2 separate regions of the Homo sapiens genome follow, and region 1 is linked to region 2. The links are contacts of gene promoters, found by promoter capture Hi-C in blood cells and fetal thymus (Javierre and others, 2016). All regions are on one chromosome and are shown on one strand. The core of a region is centred on a gene start or on the middle of the fragment in contact, and the rest is flanking DNA. Distances in the headings are between cores, read along the strand shown. Region 1 overlaps LINC00620 (long intergenic non-protein coding RNA 620). Region 2 holds the start of WNT7A (Wnt family member 7A).

Region 1 (3,088 bases), core at 135-2,634, 200 kb after region 2:
CAGGGACCCATCCCCAGCTTTTGGTCTCCACCGCAACCATCGGGCCAAGCCACCACCACCTCCTGCCCGGACCACACAGCGGCTCCATGACACATTCCTGTAGACACGTGCATGTGGCAGTCCACCGATGTGTACATGTGCACACCCAGGCGCGTGCACACACACACGCACACGCACACGCACATACACATGCATGCACACACATGCACACTCACACACACATGCGTGCACACACGTGCGCATGCACACACACATACATGCACATACACACACAGACACGGGCCTGAAAGAGGAATTAAGAAATGCCACAAAGCTCAGAGCAGGGAAAGATATTTTCCGCGTAGAGTCCCTGGAAGAGGAAGAGAACCCCTGGCTAGAGCATCCGTCTCGCAGCCCTCTTCTCTGTTCCTGTCTTCCTCTCTCCTGGCTCCTCAGGCCCAGGAGGAGTACCCTTGTGGCCACCAGCCCTGAGTCCTGACGTCCTGCACAATGGGCTCTAGACACTGTGCCCTTTTCTCTGGAAATAGTCCCCTGATTGAATATCTCCCCTCCCCACCCCAGCCCATGCCCTTCCAGTTCAAGTGGGCCTCTGTTTCCCACTGTGGTCCTGCACCCGCTCCCAGGCCTTCTGCGAGTCACTCACACACTCCCCTTCCTAGGAGGGCTCCTCTCTGGCCTCGCCTGGGTCAGTTTCCATATCCCCACTAAGCCACCACAGGCCAGGAGTTGGGGGTACTATCTGGCCACAGTCTCCACAAGGCCTGGGGTCAGGGGAGGAGCCAGCAGCCCAGAAACACACAGCCCACTGTGGCAGGAGTGGACCCCACGCAGCCAAGTTCCCCCAGCCTCCCTCCTGAGCTCAGCCTGGGTGTGCTGGGTCTGGGGTGTTCATGGCACATCCCAAAGAAGATGCAAGGAAGCCACTGGATACAGAAGCCTGGGGTTCAGGACAGAGGTCTGTGCTCCAAGGGTCTCCAGGGTGTGGAAGATTCTATAAATAGTTCCTTGACGTAACTTCCCAAATCTGTGTACCTCTGTTACTGCCACCTGCTCCCAGCAAGTGGAAGCTTTGTGCAGGCAAAGGCAGAGAGTCACTTGCCACCTTTGGACATAAAGCAGCAGGCTGCAGTGCCACGCACAGTAGGTGCTCAGTAAAGAGATCGTCACTTGAAGCACAGAAACACAATGTCTGAGCCCAAGGGTCTTTAGAGATCAAAGACTCCCAGAGGAAGCTGAAAACTCAGAGGTCCACAGGGGCCCAACAGTTGCCATAAATGAAGGGAATGGGCTAGTGTGGGTCATGGGGAGCTGGAGAGCCCGTGTTCTGGAAGCAGGGACTCCACTGCCAAGAGCCGTTGACCATGGACCTGCAGGGTTGTGGGCCCCAGGTGCACAATGGACTCACATCAATGGCTTCTCCCCTCATCTAAGGCTCTCTTTCTATTGAAAACAAATTGGGGTCTCCACGAAACTTAGTGGCCCAGCTATGCACAGCACTAGGACAGAAGTCTAGCCCAGGTCCCCAAGGAGTATGGGAGTGGCCGGGCTGGTGAAGGCAGCAGGTGGTGTTGGTGCCAAGCCCAGATCCCCCTTGTCAGGAGGTACACCCATCCCTCAGCCATTGCCAAGGTCTCCACCATTGACTCACAGCCACGCTTAACTGGAGAAGCACCAAAAGCACTGGAAATACCACGAAGCTTTATGTATCATCCCACTCGCACCCCCAGGGCTGCCTGCAGCTGTTACAATATCCTGTAGGACTGGACTTCAGCTCCGCGGTGCCATTTACCCCCCAGCACCCCTCGTGAGGTCAGGCTGAGTCTAGACTTCTCCTGCACCCTCATGCTTGCTTGGTGTCATCCTCCGCCTCACCTGCTTCTCTCCATCAGTAACCACAGGCACCCAACCCCTGTCTCAGGCTCTGCTCCTAGGGAAGCAACCTGAGCAGCGAGGGTGGCAGCGGGAAGACTGGGTGGACAGAGCGAAGACCTGAGTACACCTGAAAGTGAGAGGAGGGAGACAGATGCAGTGTGTAGAGAAGGAAGCTGCTGGGGAGAGGGGGCCCCTTGCAGCCAAGACCTGCAATCTCCAGGGAAAGTGTCCAAAGACACAAAGTTGATTGACAGTCATTGTCAACGTGGAGGAAAACCAGGGAACTGTCGTTATCACCATCTTCCCTAAGGAATTCCATAGCCAGCCAGTCAAAAAAATTCACTGAGGGCCTGCTGGGTGCTGCAGCTGTGGGGGGCGCATACAGGTGGGTGAAGCCACAGCCTCTTCAGCCTCATGGAGGTGCCCGCCTGCTTCTATCCTTCCTTCCATCCACCTGTCCTTTCTCTCCAGATCGTCTTTCAGCCCTTACATTCTTCCACACTCTGTTTACAATAGACTTCATGTGTGCTGCACAGCTAAAGTTTCTTGAAACCCTAAGAGAGGAATCGAAGGAAAGAAGCTCTGGAAAAGCCCCAGAGAGGGAGGTACTGAATCAGAATGCAAATCCCAGAGGGCTTCAGAGAGGAGGAGACCCCCCGAGTTGCCCTGAGGGAGGAGCATATGAAGAGTAAAGGGGGATTTGATCTAGGTAAGGGAAAGGCTGTGATTTTTAGCTGGCAGCATCCAATCTCTCTCTTCAAGCCCCCAGATGTCTCTCAGAATCTCCCCTTTGCCATTCTAGGGGTCCTCTTGGCAGAAAGAGGTACTCCCCTCCCACCATGGAAGTCCAAGGCTCCAGCTCCCTGCTTTCTGCCCTATGGCAGCTCCATGCAGGCATGGATATGGGCTGAGCTGGCCAGATGTCCAGCCCAGGACTCTAGGTCTTGAGAGAGCCACCCACAGGCTTTAGAAGACTGAGGAAGGCTGGAGGAAGGCCACATGTCCCTGCCAGCTCCCCAGAGAGCGCTTCAGACTGGTCCCTTTTTTGTAAACATAATGCCAGATTCAGTGATGATTGAGCCCCTCACTTTTCTGTCCCTTTGCTCTCTGTAGACATATATCTGTGAATTATACACAGTATTATTTTGACTGATTTTGCATTTTATACAGAGGTATCAATTGCACCTTGCTTAGTCAGGCTCAGTGTTGTATTTTT
Region 2 (3,212 bases), core at 642-3,141:
TACTGTCATCTCCTCTCTGGTCTGCTTGATGGCGCACTTTACTCACCTGTCCCCATTCCCACAGTGTGTTCCCTTAGGACAGCCACGGGGAGCTTTTGAACACACAAATCAGATCAGTCACCCCCTTCTTCATCCCTCCAATGTCCCCAGCTGAACACACCACTGAAATCCAAGCTCCTTGACGTGCCCACACAGCTTTGTGGATCTGTGTATCCCCATCTCCCTTCAAGCTCAGGCCTTCTCTCTCTCTCTATTGCAGCCCACCATCTCCTCCCTGGGGCTCATGCCCACCTCTGAGCTTTTGCACCTGCTGGTCCCCTTCCTGCAGTGCTGGACCCCTGATGCTGTGTCCTTCAGGCCTCACCTCAAATGCCACCTCCTCAGATCTAAAATTAACCCTCCAACACCCAGTATTCCCTCTCCCATCACCCTGCTTAATGGTCTACTATCTGCAACTCTGTTCTTGTTCACTTATCATCTGTCTCCTTCCTGGCCCCAAGAAGAAAGACTGTTGCCTTTCTTCTTCCTTGTGTCCACGGTGCCCACTATCGTGGTTGGCACAGAATATGGAATATGAATGAATACCTGAATGGTGGCTTTCGGGTGTGTGTGTGTGTGTGTGTGTGTGTAATTTAGAAAGGCAATCTTGAAGGATAGTCAGGACTGGGTGCAGGAGGTTACTACAGTTGGGCATACTTTGTTTCCCATATGGTTGTGCCACTCGCTAGCTGGTGACTCTGGGCAAACACCTTCACCTCCTTGAGCCTCAGTGTCTTCAGCTGAAACCTGAGTTCAGATTTGCCAGACCTGGGCATAGGGACAGCAGGTCCAGCAGGAACACCAAGCCAGGACCACAGCCACTCCCAGGGAGCTCAGTCCCTGGAGCCCGAGAGGAACACTCTCCGGAGGCGCAGGCGCAGCCGCTCCTAGAGACTGGGCAACCCCCAGGTGGCAGGCGGGACCGGTCCGTGCAAACAGGGAACAGGTACCCGGAGGATGGACATTCGCTGGCAAAAACATAAACTGCCGCTCGGAGTCTTGGCACCACCCAATTTCCAGGGACGGTTAGACTCCCCCTAGCTCACTGGATGAGGTGTACACCAAAGAAGGGTGTTAGCCCCCTCGGGTCGGCCAGGGCACTCAAAGCATTCTGTTCCCGGGAGCGAGGCCGAGGTGCACCACCCGCCGCGTCCGCCTGGTGACGCCGCGAGCGCGCTCTGAGCGGCCAGCTGCGCCCCTCACGCTCCCGCGGCTCAGGCGCCCCACTGCTGTTCCGCGCGGGGCAACTGGGCCTCAGCCCGACTCAGTCTGTCGGCTAACAGCAGGATCCCAGAGGAGGCTGCCCAACCTGGGCACCCCCTGCCGCCACTCTCGAATAGGTGGGAGTAGGGAAGAAATACACTGAGCCAGTCAGCCCGTCGCTCCGCGAAAGGGGGCGCCCTCCCCTGAAGCTGGGGTTGGGGAACTGGGGTGTGCCCTGTCAGCCCCAGCTCCCTGTTCCGGGCTGGAGGGAGCAGGGCAGCAGACCAAGGCACTAGGCCTCTCGGCCGAGTCTGGTCCACTCCACCCGAGGGCAGCCTCTGGACGCCCACTCGCCCTGCAATCTGCAAGTTAGTGACGGGTGGGGGGCGAGCGGGCTCCTACCGCCTCCAACCGGGCTGTGCTCCCCAGCCTGCCACCTGCACCCCGGAGCAGGGAGGGGGCCCCCGGGAGCGCGCATGGAAAGGCGCGAGCGCGCGCCTTGTGCAGGCGGCCCTGTCCCGCGGGCGCAGGGGCGCTGGGCGGGCGCTCCGGGGAGGCGGGCGGGGGAGGGGGCGGGGGAGGGACGGGGGAAAGGAGGGAGGGGCGGGGGCTGGAGGCAGCAGCGCCCCCGCACTCCCCGCGTCTCGCACACTTGCACCGGTCGCTCGCGCGCAGCCCGGCGTCGCCCCACGCCGCGCTCGCTCCTCCCTCCCTCCTCCCGCTCCGTGGCTCCCGTGCTCCTGGCGAGGCTCAGGCGCGGAGCGCGCGGACGGGCGCACCGACAGACGGCCCCGGGGACGCCTCGGCTCGCGCCTCCCGGGCGGGCTATGTTGATTGCCCCGCCGGGGCCGGCCCGCGGGATCAGCACAGCCCGGCCCGCGGCCCCGGCGGCCAATCGGGACTATGAACCGGAAAGCGCGGCGCTGCCTGGGCCACCTCTTTCTCAGCCTGGGCATGGTCTACCTCCGGATCGGGTAAGGGCTGCCTGCGCCCTTTCCGCGCGTGTTTCGACAAAGTTGGCACGGCCCGGGGAGGGAGGTGTGCCGCCTGCGAGCCTCTGCCGGCCAACTTCCACAGCTTCTCTGAGAGGCCGGGTGGGTGCGGTGTGGGAGCGGTGGACGCACAAAGGCCCCCCGCAGGACACCCCAGGAGATATAGGCAGGGGGACTGGCCATCCTGAGGACGTCTGAGTCTGGAATCCCCCAGGACCAGAGACAGCCGGTAGGGACGCTCCAGCCTGAGGGACTCTGGGGGAGGGCTAGCTGCTGCAAAGGTTCAGCCCATCCCGGGGACCCTTCGGACCCGGGCATAGGGACAGCAGGTCTAGCAGGAACATCAAGCCAGGACCACAGCCAATCTCGGGGAGCTCAGTCCCCGGAGCCCGAGACGAACTCTCTCAGGAGGCGCGGCACAGCCGTTCCTAGAGACTGGGCAGTCCCCAGGTGGCTGGCGGGGCCGGTCCGTGCAAACAGGGAACAGGTACCCAGGAGGAAGGACATTCGCTGGCAAAAACATAAACCGCCGCTCGGAGCCTTGGCACCACCCAATTTCCAGGGGCCCTTAGACTCCCAGAGCCCCTTCCCGGGCCAAGGGGACAGCACGTCCCACCCCCAACAAACACACACAAAGGTGGGACGAGAGGCGGTCTGAGACACAGAGGGAGACAAGCGCTAGAGAGAGGCGGGACACCCCGCCCCCTGGAACTGGGCAGCAGAGGCGGCCGGGCGCGCGAGCAGCCCTCCGGCTTCACCTAGCGTTTCTGTGGAGGTGGGGCTCGGGGGCGCTCTGGCTGGAAGGTGGGAGGGGGCAGCTCGGGACGCGTCCTGGAGCTGCTTGTGCAAAGCCGGTCACCCTTTGTACTTAAGACAACGCGTGTGAGGCTCGGAGCGGTGTGGGGGCGGGGGGATCTGGGCATGGATAGAGGTTCTGGCGCTGAAGGGCCCGCTTGGTAGGTCTCACACACCCTGCCC

What was found. The method cuts DNA at HindIII sites, captures the fragments that hold promoters and counts their contacts. A CHiCAGO score of 5 or more calls a contact.
Region 1: a fragment that was not itself captured here is called in contact with the fragment with the promoter of WNT7A in region 2 in 2 of 17 cell types (megakaryocytes and endothelial precursors); the score reaches 5.8 in megakaryocytes.

What each region holds. Positions count from the first base shown.
Region 1 is chr3:13,679,217-13,682,304 of GRCh38, reverse strand. All of the region lies in intron 1 of LINC00620 (long intergenic non-protein coding RNA 620), which reads right to left. Among named protein-coding and RNA genes, the nearest start is that of LINC00620, 30 kb to the right of the region's middle. RefSeq lists an enhancer at 188-733. The HindIII fragment of the contact is 630 bases long and covers 1,070-1,699 here.
Region 2 is chr3:13,878,750-13,881,961 of GRCh38, reverse strand. It overlaps WNT7A (Wnt family member 7A), which reads left to right and starts at 1,891. Exons shown (of 4, transcript NM_004625.4): 1 at 1,891-2,216. The coding sequence starts at 2,146. RefSeq lists enhancers at 1,913-2,414, 2,917-3,212. The HindIII fragment of the contact is 8,507 bases long and covers 1-3,212 here.